Regions from separate parts of the Homo sapiens genome. Here region 1 is linked to region 2. The links are contacts of gene promoters, found by promoter capture Hi-C in human tissues and cell types (Jung and others, 2019). All regions are on one chromosome and are shown on one strand. The core of a region is centred on a gene start or on the middle of the fragment in contact, and the rest is flanking DNA. Distances in the headings are between cores, read along the strand shown.

Evidence for each region. Contacts are between HindIII fragments. The study calls those that stand out against the background at their distance.
Region 1: a fragment that was not itself captured here is called in contact with the fragment with the promoter of OR10X1 in region 2 in 3 of the 25 tissues and cell types used here (adrenal gland, heart left ventricle and psoas muscle).

The regions. Positions count from the first base shown.
Region 1 is chr1:158,627,704-158,634,194 of GRCh38, forward strand. It overlaps SPTA1 (spectrin alpha, erythrocytic 1), which reads right to left. Exons shown (of 52, transcript NM_003126.4): 40 at 1-20. Among named protein-coding and RNA genes, the nearest start is that of OR10Z1, 26 kb to the left of the region's middle. The HindIII fragment of the contact is 6,302 bases long and covers 1-4,401 here.
Region 2 is chr1:158,575,340-158,581,811 of GRCh38, forward strand. It overlaps OR10X1 (olfactory receptor family 10 subfamily X member 1), which reads right to left and starts at 4,560. Exons shown (of 1, transcript NM_001004477.1): 1 at 3,580-4,560. The coding sequence starts at 4,560. The coding sequence ends at 3,580. The HindIII fragment of the contact is 15,386 bases long and covers 1-6,472 here.

The sequences.
Region 1 (6,491 bases), core at 1-2,500, 49 kb after region 2:
TCATGCTTCATTAGCAAGCTCTGCATAAATAAGTCGGTGAGAATTAAGATATCCAAAGCCGGAAAATCTATATTCACTCATATTCAGACTCACGGGTCTATTATTCCCTAGGGTTGATTCAATGAAATTGGCAGACTAGGTGAATGCCCACTTTTTCTGGAATAACTATACTCAATTGCTTTCTCAAATTCTCACTTGTCACTGAGTGCAACTTACTGGAAAAAAGAGTCAAAGATATACAAGTGACATTCTTTCTAATTTATTATGTGACTAATCTTATTTTGATTTTGGAATGAGGGTTTTGACTGGGGTCGTATATAAAGATTCCTCCATATTGAGATTTATCTAATTCAATGAAACAATGTGTCTAGCAGAAAAAAATTTAGTATCAAGAACATCCTAAACTAAGCCCTGATCCTAAAGAGAAGTTAAGGGGAACATGGAGCTGCCACTGACGATTACTCCAATAGTTCTCTGACTGCTTTCTGGAAACATGATGTCTGTGTAGCTGGCAGAATGAAAAGAGAAGTGAGGCTGAAGCATGAAGAGTGGTACTTTGTCTTCTGTTGTACCTTCCAGAGAAATATCTATAAAAGCCCATAATCACCACCACCATGACCACCCACCACTGCCACTGCTCCCACTACTGCCTTCACCTCCCTCTTGTCATAAAAGCACTCTGTCAATTTTTTTCCTATACAACATAGTAAGTCAGGTTAAAGGAAGAAAGAGAATTTCTATGACTATTATACTTTTTCAAAATCCCTATTGAAAATAAAAGGACTTTCAGTTCATGGTGTTGAGGCACTAAAATAAGATGGTTACTCATTGTAAAACAAGATGGACTACATTATATATTATGACTGTATTACATTTTATTTTTTGAAGAAACGGTAAATGAATATTGGAAAGGTGATTGACTTTGTATGACTGAAAGCCTGAATGAATCATATTTTTATATATGTATACTGCATGAAATAAAGTATCTTTAACATCTTCACCTTCGCCTTCTATTTTCAAATAATAAATTCAAAAATAAAAGAAGAAACATTAGAACTGTTGTCAAAGAAATAAAAGAGATCACAAGAAAAGATTACAAATAATTATATGCCAATAAACTAGAATATCTAGAGAAAATAGATAAATTCCTAGAAACAGACAACTTGCAAAGACCAAATCATGAAGAAAGTCCAAACAGACCTATAACTACTGTGGAGACTGAATCAGAAATAAACCTCTCAACAAAGAAAATCCCAAGACCAGATGGCTTCACTGATGAATTAAATCAAATATTTAAATAATTAATACCAATTATTCTCAAACTGTTTCAAAAAATTTAAGAGGAGGGAACATTTCTAAACACCTTCGCAAAGTCAGCATTACCCTGACACCAAAGCCAGGCGATAATTCTCTCAATAGATAGATAGATAGATGATAGATAGATAGATAGATAGATATGTCTATCAAGAGAGACAAAATATATCTCTATCTATCTATCTATCTATCTATCTATCTATCTATCTGAATATAGAGGGCCTAATATCCTTAATATTCTTATTGAATATAGATGCAAAACTCCTCAACAAAATACTAGCATGTTGAATCCAGCAGCACATTAAAATGATTATATACCACAAACAAGCAGAATTTATCCCTGGGATGCAAGGATGGTTCAACATATGCAGATCAATAAATGTGATACAACACATTGACACAAAAAAAGATAGAACTAAATCATCATCTCAATAGATTCTGAAAAAAAATGGACAGAATTCAGCACTCTTTCATGATAAAAACCATCAACAAACTAAGAACAGAGGGATATTGCTTCAACGTGATAAAGTACATGTATGAAAAGCCCACAGCTAACATCATATTTAATGGTGAAACTAAAAGCTTTTCCTTTAAGTTTATGAACAAGGCAAAGATAATCGCTCTCACTATTTCTATTTAAGATAGTACTGGAAGTCCTAGTAAAAGGCATCTAAATAAGAAAGGAAGAAGTAAAATTTTCTTTGTTTGCAAGTGACATAATCTTAAATACAGAGAACTCTGAACACTCCATAAAAAACTGTTAGAACTAGTAAACCAATCAGCAAAGTTACAGAATAAAACTCAAAACATAAAAGTCGGTTTAGAAATTGTAAACAATAAACTATCTGAAAAAGAAATTAAGAAAATAATTCCTTTTACAATCACATCAAAAATAATAAAATATATAAAAATAAATGTAACCAAGGAGGTGAAAAGCTCATACACTGAAAACTACAAAACATTGATAAAAGAAATTAAAGAAGCCACAAACAAATGGAAAAATATTCTGTGTTCATGGATTAGAAGATTTAATATTGTTAAAATGTGAATACTACCCAAAGTGATGTACAAGGTCAATGAAATCCCTATTAAAATCCCAATGACATTTTTTACAGAAATAGAAAAATCAATTCTAAAATTTATATGGAATCAGAAAAGACCACAAATAGTCAAATCAATATTGACAAAGAAGAACAAAGCTGAAGGAATCACACTTCCTGATTTTAAAATACAGTAAAAAGCTACAATAATTAAGAGTATGGTACTGGCATAAAAACAGACATAGATGAATGAAACAGAATAGAGAGTCCAGAAATAAACCCATGTATATGTAGTTAACTGGTCTTTGACAAGGGTGCCAAAAATATACAATGGAGAATAGACAGCTTCTTTAACAAATAGTGCTGGGAAAACTGCTTTTCACTTGCAGAATAATGAAATAAGACCCTTATGCCATACCCAAGAATCAACTCAAAATTGTTTAAAGACTTAAATGTAAGTCTTGAAACTATAGAACTCCTGAAAGAAAAGGTAGGGTAAAATCTTCATGATACTGGTCTTGGCAATGATTACATAAATATGACACTAAAAGCACAGGCAACAAAAAGAAAAAATAAACAAATGGGAGTATATAAAGCTAAAACTTCTGCACAGCAAAGGAAACAATCAACAGAGTGAAAAGGCAGCCCACTGAATGAGAGTTAATACTTATAAATGATTTCCCTAATAAGGGGTTAATCTCTAAAATATATAAGGAACTAATATAACTCAATACTAAAAAGTAAATAAAAAATAAAAATAAAAGTAAAAAACCCCTAATAACTTGATTTAAAAATGGGCTAAAAACAAACATGAAAAAATGTTCAATATCACTAATTATCAGGGACGTGCAAATTAAAACCACAATGAGGTATCACCTTACTCCTGAAAGAATGGCCATATTAAAAAGTCAAAAAATAATAGATATCGGTGTGGATGTGGTAAACGGGACACTCTTACACTGCTGGTGAAAATGTAAACTAGTACAACCACTATAAAAAACAGTATGGAGATTCCTTAAAGAACTACCACTCAATTCAGTAATCCCACTACTGGGTATCTACCCAAAGGAAAAGAAGTCATTTATGAAAAAGACACATGCATACTTGTGTTTATAGCAGTACAATTTGCAATTGCAAAAATAACCAACCAACTTATTGCCCAATTAATGAGTAGATAAAGAAAATGTGGTATATATACATCATGGAATAGTACTCAGCCATGAAACAAAACAAAATAATGGCGTTTGCAGCGACCTGGATGGAGTTGGGGGGCCACTCTAAGTGAAGTAACTCAGGAATGGAAAACCAAATGTCTTACGTTCTCACTTATAAATAGGAGCTAAGCTATGAGGATTAAAAGGCATTAAAATGATACAATGGACTTAGAGGACTTGAGGGAAAGGGTGGGAAAGGGGTCAGGGATAAAAGACTACATATTGGATATAGTGCACACTGCTCGGGTGATAGGTGTACCAGAAATTTAGATATCACCACTAAAGAACTTATCCATATAACCAAAACCACCTGTACCTAAAAAAGTATTGAAATAAATAAATTTAAAAATAATAAAAATGAGCTAAGAAGTTTAATAGAAATTTCCCTAAAAAGGCATGTAAATGCCCCTCAGGTATATGAAAAGATGCTTCACATTATTAACCATTAGGAAAATGCAAATTAAACCATAATGAGATATCACTTCACACCTGTCAGGATGGCTATTAACAAAACATAAAAGGCCAGTGTTAGTGAAGATATGCAGAAATTGAAGCCCTTTCACATTCTTAGTGGGAATGCAAAATGGCACAGCTGTTATGGAAAACAACATGAATATTCTTGAAACATTTAAAATAAAACTACCTATCGTCCAGCAATTCTATTTCTGGGTATTTATCCAAAAGGATAAGGAAATAATGATTTCAATAAGATATTAGCATCCATATGTTCATTGCAGCATTATTAACAATAGCCAAGATATGGACACAACCTAAATGTCCATCAACAGATGAATGAATGAAAAAAATGTGGTATATTCATTCAATAAAATACCATTTATTCTTAAAAAATAAGAAAGTTATGCAACATTTAACAACATAGATGAACCTTGAGGACATTACGCTAAGCAAAATAAGCCAGTTATAGAAAGATACATGCTACATGATTCCACCTATATGAGGTAGACAAATTTATAAAATCAAAGAGTGGAATGTTAATTACCAGAGGCTGAGAAAAAAATTGAAGTTTTACTAACCATAAGGCATAAATTACAGTCAAGCAAGATGAAAACGCTCAAGAGCATTTCTATACAGCCTACAACATTGTACCTATAGTCAACAATAATATGTTATACACGTATAAATGTATTAAGAGAGTAGATCTCATGTTCAGTGTTTTTGTCACAATAAAACAAATCAAAATGAACAAACTAACAATTCAATTAGAAAATAGAGAGACATTTCACTGAGGAAAAATACAGATGTCAAATAAACACATGACAAAAAATGTAAAACATCATTATCCATTAAGGAAATGCACATATGAGCTACAATGAGGTATCACTATATATCTATGTGAATGACTAAAATAAAAGTAGTGACAACACAGAATGCTAGCAGGGATATAGGGAAACTGCAAACTGCATCATTTATGCATTGTTGTTAAGAGTGCAAAATGATATAGCCATACAAACAGGAAAGGAATTTGGCTTTTTTTTTTTTTTTGGTCCAAAACTAAATAGGCAGTTACTATATGGTTCAGTGATTGGGGTCCTGTACATTTATCCCAGAGAAATAGACTTATGTTTGCATTAAAATCTGTGCATGAATATTTATAGTGGCTTTTCTCATAGTCATCAAAAAGTGGAAACAGCCCAGACTCCCCTCAACAGGTGAGTGGTTCGACTGTGATATTCTTATACCACGACACTGCTCAGAAATAAGAAGGGATGAACTATTGTTACACACAATAACCAGAATTAATCACCAGAGTATGGTGCTGAGTGAAAAGGTCAATCTTCAAAAGTTACATACTATATGATTTCATTTGTATAGCAGCGTGGAAATGACAAACTTATAGAAATGTAGAACAGATTAGTGGTTGCCACAGTTTGAAGAGGCAGGAAGAGGAGGTGGCTATAAAAAAGCAACAGCAGTGATCCTTGTGATGATGCTAGCCTTCTGAATCTTAACTGAATCTTGACAATGTCAATATCCCATTTATGATATACTGCTTTTCTGGATGTTTCCATTAGAGAAAACTTGGTAAAGGACATGAGATCTGTCTGTGTTATTTCTTATAACTGCATGTGAATCTATAATTCTCAAAATAAAAAGTTCTGTTTTAATGCCTGTAATCCCAGCACTTTGGGAGGCTGAGGTGGGTGGATCACGAGGTCAGGAGATCGAAACCATCCTGGCTAACATGGTGAAACCCCTTGTCTACTAAAAATACAAAAAAATTAGCCTGGCGTGGTGGCAGCCGCCTGTAGTCCCAGCTACTCGGGAGGCTGAGGCAGGAGAATGGCATGAACCCGGGAGGCAGAGCTTGCAGTGAGCCAAGATCACTCCACTGCACTCCAGGCTGGGAGACAGAGTGAGACTCTGTCTCGAAAAAAAAAAAAAAAAAGAAAAGAAAAAAGAAAAAGTTCTGTTGTAAAGAAAGGGAAGCCTTTGAGAGCATTTGATAGGAAGCCTTAAAATGCTTGAACATGTGCAGTGGGGTGCACATGCATGATCCAAAAGACTTACAAATAAGATGAGCTGATAATTTGAATTATATGTTGTATAGGTTTAAGTTATCTTTTGCAAGTCTAAGCCTTTCCTTATGTCATCACATTAAAGTGAATTAATTTCTACAAAGAGTTCTTGGTAAATTCCCAATTTTTAGGGTTACTAGGCACAGTTTCCAAAGTCCTAATACATTCTTGTTTTGTAATCACTCTCAAAAGCCGTCAAAATTTACATTAACTCAAGATCACACTGATTAATTGTTCATTTCTTTATAGAGAAACCCAATCCTGCATTTAAAAGGATGTCTATAAATTGTGGAACTATTTTGTCCAGTAAGCCCTTCTTCCTAAAATTATATTTTGTTGAAACTGCAGCCAATGTCCAGACATAAGAAGATTTTTTTCCAAATCAA
Region 2 (6,472 bases), core at 3,310-5,809:
GTGATCTTATGTGGGTACTGTATCTCCTGAGTGCTCCCATAAATCTGTATAAACCTTAACTCATATTGCATCATAATTTCTTAGCCTCCCCACTAGCAGAATGTAAGTTTTTTGAGAGAAAAAAATATATCTTGTATGTTCTTGTTTTCCTCATGGTTAGTGTAGCGTCTTGAACAGAATGAGTTATTCATATATATGGAAGAGACAAATGGACATTTTTTTCACAAAAAGCAATCTACATGTAGATGCAGAACAGAAGTAATTTATCTCCTATTTTGATTCTTCATTAATGTCTTACTATATTGCTTATTGACAGGAGAGAATATTTTCATTTCTTCCCATTAAATAAATTTCTTGGGTATAAAAATTTAGAAAACCCTAATGAGAAATTGGGTCAGAGACAAAGTCTTGAATTATAATAATATCTTAGATTATAGAAGAAAGACATGATATAAAAAGGAGAAAAAGAGTTTCACATGTATGCTGAAGTATGTAGCTATAGTTTATTCATTTTTATTACTTCATGCTGATACATACATGAATATGGCATAATTTTTCTATCTATTCTGTAGTATATTAGCTGAGTAATTTTTGGCTCTTGCCATTTTGCAAATATTGTGTCTAAGGACATCTATGTATGTCTTATGACACACACGTGCAGACTAGTCTTTAGGGCATACACATAGGAGTAGAAAAGTTTAACCACAGGGTATGAGAATCTCCAAAATAAATTTATAATACTAGACTGTTTTCTAAAATGACTGAACAAGTATACACTCTTATTAAGAGCACTGAAGGCCAGGTGTGGTGGCTCACGCCTGTAATCCCAGCACTTTGGGAGGCCGAGGTGGGTGGATCACCTGAGGTCAGGAGTTCGAGACCAGCCTGGCCAACATGGTGAAACCCTGTCTCTACTAAAAATACAAAAATAAGCCAGGCGTGGTGGCAGGTGCCTGTAATCCCAGTTACTTGGGAGGCTGAGGCAGGAGAATCGCTTGAACCTGGGAGGTGGAGGTTGCAGTGAGCCGAGATCGCACCATTGCACTCCAGCCTGGGTGACAGAGCAAGACTCAACTCACAAAAAAAAAAAAAAAAAGGAGCACTGAAGAGTTCTTGTTGCTTCATGTTTCTTTTTTGACACTCGTTAATCTAGCCTTTTAATTTTAGCCATTCAAGTGAGTATGTGGTAGTACCTCACTGGGGTTTTAATGTTCATTTTCATGCTTACTAATGAGACCAAGCACCTTTTAAGGTATTTATTGAACATTTGGATATTCTCTTTTATAAAGGATCTATTTGCATCTCTTAGAAATTTTTCTATTGTCTTTTAATTTATTTTTTGAGAATTTTATTTCTTTTAGAAATTATTTATACAGCCATATACCACACAATAATGTTTTGGTCAATGACAGACCACAAAGACAATGATGGTTTCACAAGAGTATAAAACGGTATTTCTACTGTACCTTTTCTATGCTTAGATATGTTTAGATACATAAACACTACTGTGTTAGGACTGCCTACAGTATTCAGTACAGTAACATAATGTACACATTTGTAGCCTAGGAACATTAGGCTATATCATACAGTCTATGTGCATTGTAGGTTTTTGTAAGTACATTCTGTGATGTTTACACATTGACAAAATCACAAAGTGACACATTTCTCAGAATACATCCTTATTGTTAAGTGACGCATGACTGCATATACCAAATGAGGGCCTTTGCCAGTTACATGTTAGAGACTTTTTTATCTTTCTGTGCATTGCTTTGTTTAATCCTTACATTAGAAAATAAAATGTAAGCACAGAAAATTATTTAAACAAATACATAGCTTAGTGAATCTTTCACGGGCAAAAGCCTTTGCAGTTACTACCTAGACCAAGGAAAAGAACTTTGCCCATCAGGAGTTTTTCATGTGCCCCTCATCCTGCCCACTCACAGACCCTCCTTCTAAAAGTAATTATGATCCTAAATTTCATACTTATCAGTCTCTGAAATTTCTTTATAGCTATATGATTTGGCTTTCTTTTCCACTCTCTCAATAGCGTCTTTTTGATGAATAAAATGTCTCAATTTTGATTTAATCAGCCTTTTTCATTTTAGTTAAAAATTTTACATACAGTTTAAACAGTCTTTTCTATCTCAAGTTGGTGAAGATATCTTCTTCATTACCTTTTAAAGTTTTATTGCTTCACTTTTCAAATTTAGTTTTCGATTTCCAGAAATTGATTTTTTTTTTCAGATTTTGTTTTTCTCATATGGATATGCTATTTTCCTAGCACCAGTTATATTGAAAGTCTATCATTTTCTCACTGTACTGAAATGCTTTACTTGTCATAAAGCAAGTGCCCATATGGGTATGAGTCTTTGGGTATTTTCAGCTTCCATTTACTCACTTATTTCTGGCAACTAGCAATCCCCGCCACAGTCACTATATCAGGCACAAGCAGGCTAATTGGTCCAAATTTAGGTTCAGGATCTTGAGTCTAGACTTGACGTAACATCCTCTGCATCCATAATAAGGGAGTAAATAGTATTTATTTTTGAGACTTTTAGCTTCCCTAGATTGAATAACCAATTGTCGGGAGTGGAACCAAAGCAAAAGAAAATGCTTGCCACTAAGGAATGGCTGCAGATTGAAGGTAGCAGAGATTTTTGTCTGCACCTGTATCATGAAAATAATCCCAAAGAAAGAGTGTCATGGTCAGGGGTAAACTTAATCAGTTAATGTGCATAATAAATTTATCCACTATTTCATTTATTTCATAACATTCCCATAAGTAACAGAACTCAAAATTACATCAATACTCTTACATCTCTTATCAGAAATGATTTGTCTCATGGGAGGTGCATTTCAGTGCTTCATAACATTTGCCTAAAAAAAATCCTTAACTTTTACGTCTATTATTATTATTATTATTATTATTATTATTATTATTATTATTTGAGATGGAGTTTTGCTCTTGTCACCTGGGCTGGAGTGCAATGGCATGGTCTCTGCTCACTCTGCCTCCTGGGTTCAAGCTATTCTCCTGCCTCAGCCTCCCGAGTAGCTGGGATTACAGGCACCCACCACCATGCCCAGCTAATTTTTGTATTTTTAGTAGAGATGGGGTTTTACCATGTTGGCCAGGCCGGTCTCAAACCCCTGGCCTCAAGTGATCTGCCCACCTCGGCCTCCCAAAGTGCTGGGATTACAAGCCTGAGCCATGGTTGACATCTTTAGATATTTAAAACATCACTCAGTGCAGTGGATTTATATGCTGTTTTTTCCTTCCACACTTTTTACTCAATTCATGAATACTGCAGGACACCCGGAAGTTGATTATCAGAATCTTTTATCTGCAGGGACATTCTTCTTCTGATACTGGATAGTAGAAGGGTTGGACAGCTTCTCTAACAAGCTAAGTAGATGCCTGTGGCTACTTAGTTCCCAGTCTGTGTCACTTGCTTCTTACATCCCAACCTCTGGAACAAGGCAAATGGTACAAGTTTCTCCAGGGGTCACAGGATAAATGCCCCTATTGAATTCTGGGGACATTGAGCCCTTCTTCAAACAAGCAGCAACAACCCAAGATTATTTTTTCAAGGCAACTGTGTTTCCCATCATTCTTCTAAAAGCATTTTTCATGTCCTTATTCCTCAGGCTGAATATGATGGGGCTGAGGAAGGGGGTAATGACAGTATAAGGGACTGCTATGAGTGTGTCATCTCCTGAGGCTTCTGGCTTCAAATAAACAATAGATGCAAAACCAAAGTGGATTATAACCACGGTGAGGTGGGAGGCACAGGTGGTGAAGGCCTTCTGCTTGCCCTCAGCTGAAGGGATCCTGAGGACAGTAGAAATAATGAAGACATCAGTCAGGATGATGAGCAGAAGGGTACCCAGCAAACCAGACACTGAGATCAGTGTTATAATGAATTCTGTGTGGTTACTGTCTATACAAGACAGCCTAATAACTGCCAGCATATGGCAGAAGAAGTGTTTGACAAGGTTGGGTCTGCAGAAAGAGTCCCTGAATATCAGTGCAGTCTCTGTAAGAGAGATAAAGAAGCCTGCAGTGCAAGCAGAGGCCACAAGTTGTCCACATACAATGTTGGTCATAAGCAGTGGATATCTTAGAGGGTTACAGATGGCCAGGAAGCGGTCATATCCCATCAAAGTGAGAATGATACAGTTTGTGCCACCAAGTCCCAAGAAGAAGCACATCTGTAAGCTACAACCTGTGACTGAAATGCTTCTGTCCTTGGCCAGTAGATCTTCCAGCATCTTGGGGACGATGGTCAGCGTATAGCAGGTCTCAGAGAAGGAGAGTGCACTAAGGAAGAGATACATAGGGGTGTGGAGGGACCTGTCCACCCAAGTTAGACCCATGATGATCAGATTACCTGCAAGGGTGAGAAGGTAGAGACAAAAGAAGACCACAAAAAGAAATGTCTGTACATGTGGGTACACAGAAAAGCCAACAAGAATGAATTCCTTCAGGATTGTCTGGTTGATCTTCATCGTTTGAATGTCTGAAATTTGAAAGAAACAACAATAAACATTCAACACCATTATCTTTTGATACCATCAAAGGAAAATTGTGATGACTAAGATAAATCATCAGAATTACAATTACCAACTGCTTTTTCTTGTAGTTTAGCAAAACTATGTATATGTAGGTAATGTGTTTTTCTCATTTTTCATCCATTCATTTTTTCCTTTATTCAGCAGCTAATTAGTGATGACTTAGTATATGACATCACTATGTATATGACAAGAAGGCTTGCTCTGGCCTATTTTTAAAAGGATTTTATGAGCATGTGGTATAATATGGGAGGAAACACTCCAGTTGATGCTCAGATAAAGGAGGTTCAGATGCATTAGGTGAGCTTTATTTGGATGAGCTTCTGAACACAGAGAAAACTTTTAAGTGGCTAATAGAGTCAGGGTCCAACACAGAAACTTCCACACAATGTATGGTCTATAAATATTTACTGCGTAAATATCAAGAATTGATTTCCAAGTAATTTTAGGACAAAACTTGGACAATCACTTGCAATTGTTGGAGAAGCCCAAAGTCATTAACCCTTCTTGGAGAATATATTTAGGTCCTAGAATTTTAAAAGAAAGTTAAAAAAACATGTGTCATTATTTCTGCTCTGAGAAGAGGGAAAGAAGAAAGATAGGGTAGCCTAGGACTCTTAGGATTAATAGTAATTAATTAAATCTGTGGATGGTTTTGATAAGCAGACTATACAAGCATAGTGCAGGTGGCAATTGAGATTGTGTCTATTTTGTTAATTCCCAGCTCAGCATTCAAAGAAAATAAGTGGCATTTAATAATTGTATAAATTTTTCAATAATGCTACATCTGATTTAATCTCATAGTCCTCTGATTTCTATAGCATGTTGTTAGTCCCTATATTTAACACATTGTTTCAGCCCTGTAGTATATTGAGCTACTGTTTTCCCTGCCCCATATGTCAACATATTTAATAACTAGCATTTGTGGGGTTTATATTTTTCCAAATTATTTCAAATGTTTATTGATTTTACTCTTCACAGCATAAATATAAAGTGAATGGGACGGTTGCGAAATGGGTAGGACAAGTGTGATTACTTATTTTAGAAATAAAATTATGTCTTGGAAGTGGCATATTTGTGACTAGAAGCAAAGAGATTTGACTTGAATTGTATACTCTTTTCATTTATCAATGCTTAGTGCTTCAAGAAAGAGACCATAAGTCTTATATTTTTGTATTTTTCAGAGTAATAATATGGAGCACTTTAAGAAGGTAATAATTCCTGGTGAATGTTAGATGGATGAGTTAATCATCAAAAAAGTGCTTAGTATATAAATGATTTTTGTTTTCCTTTGTTATTCAGCACTGTATAGCATTTGATTTTTGAGCATGGAGGTTAACAGACTTTCCACTCTAATTAGGTTTTGTTTAGGCTAAGATTAAGCATTCTCATGGCAGAGTCTAACTTATCACTGACAGTCAGAAGACACAGTAGAAAAAAGGTCTGAATTATAAGTGGTTCCTAAAATAATCCACAACCCTTTGGACTCTACTTTAAAGGTCCCTTTGGTTCTTTGTCTTCTTAGACCTTACAAGTTTCTTACTCTCTGACAGTCATACATGAATCACATGACTTAATCTTTTCTTATCTCCTATCAACTCTTTCTCCATTCTGTTTCCCTTTCACTTACTGTATCTACTCTTCTTAGTGAGCAGTCATTTCCCAATAAGAAGACCATTTTTCTGTTCTCTTACCTAAGGGAATATTATAGAGGACCATGTCTATTATAACCCGGGGCTTCCTCTTGAGGCCTTTTGGTGTGAGCCTCTTTAGTAACCACATTCAGTACGAGTATCTTTGGTTTCCAAATCTACTTGCAGATGATTGTTCCACTTTTCTCTATGATCAGCTTTCTGCTACATTTCAACTGTTCAGAGGCATCTTTTTCCTTCCAGAAGTA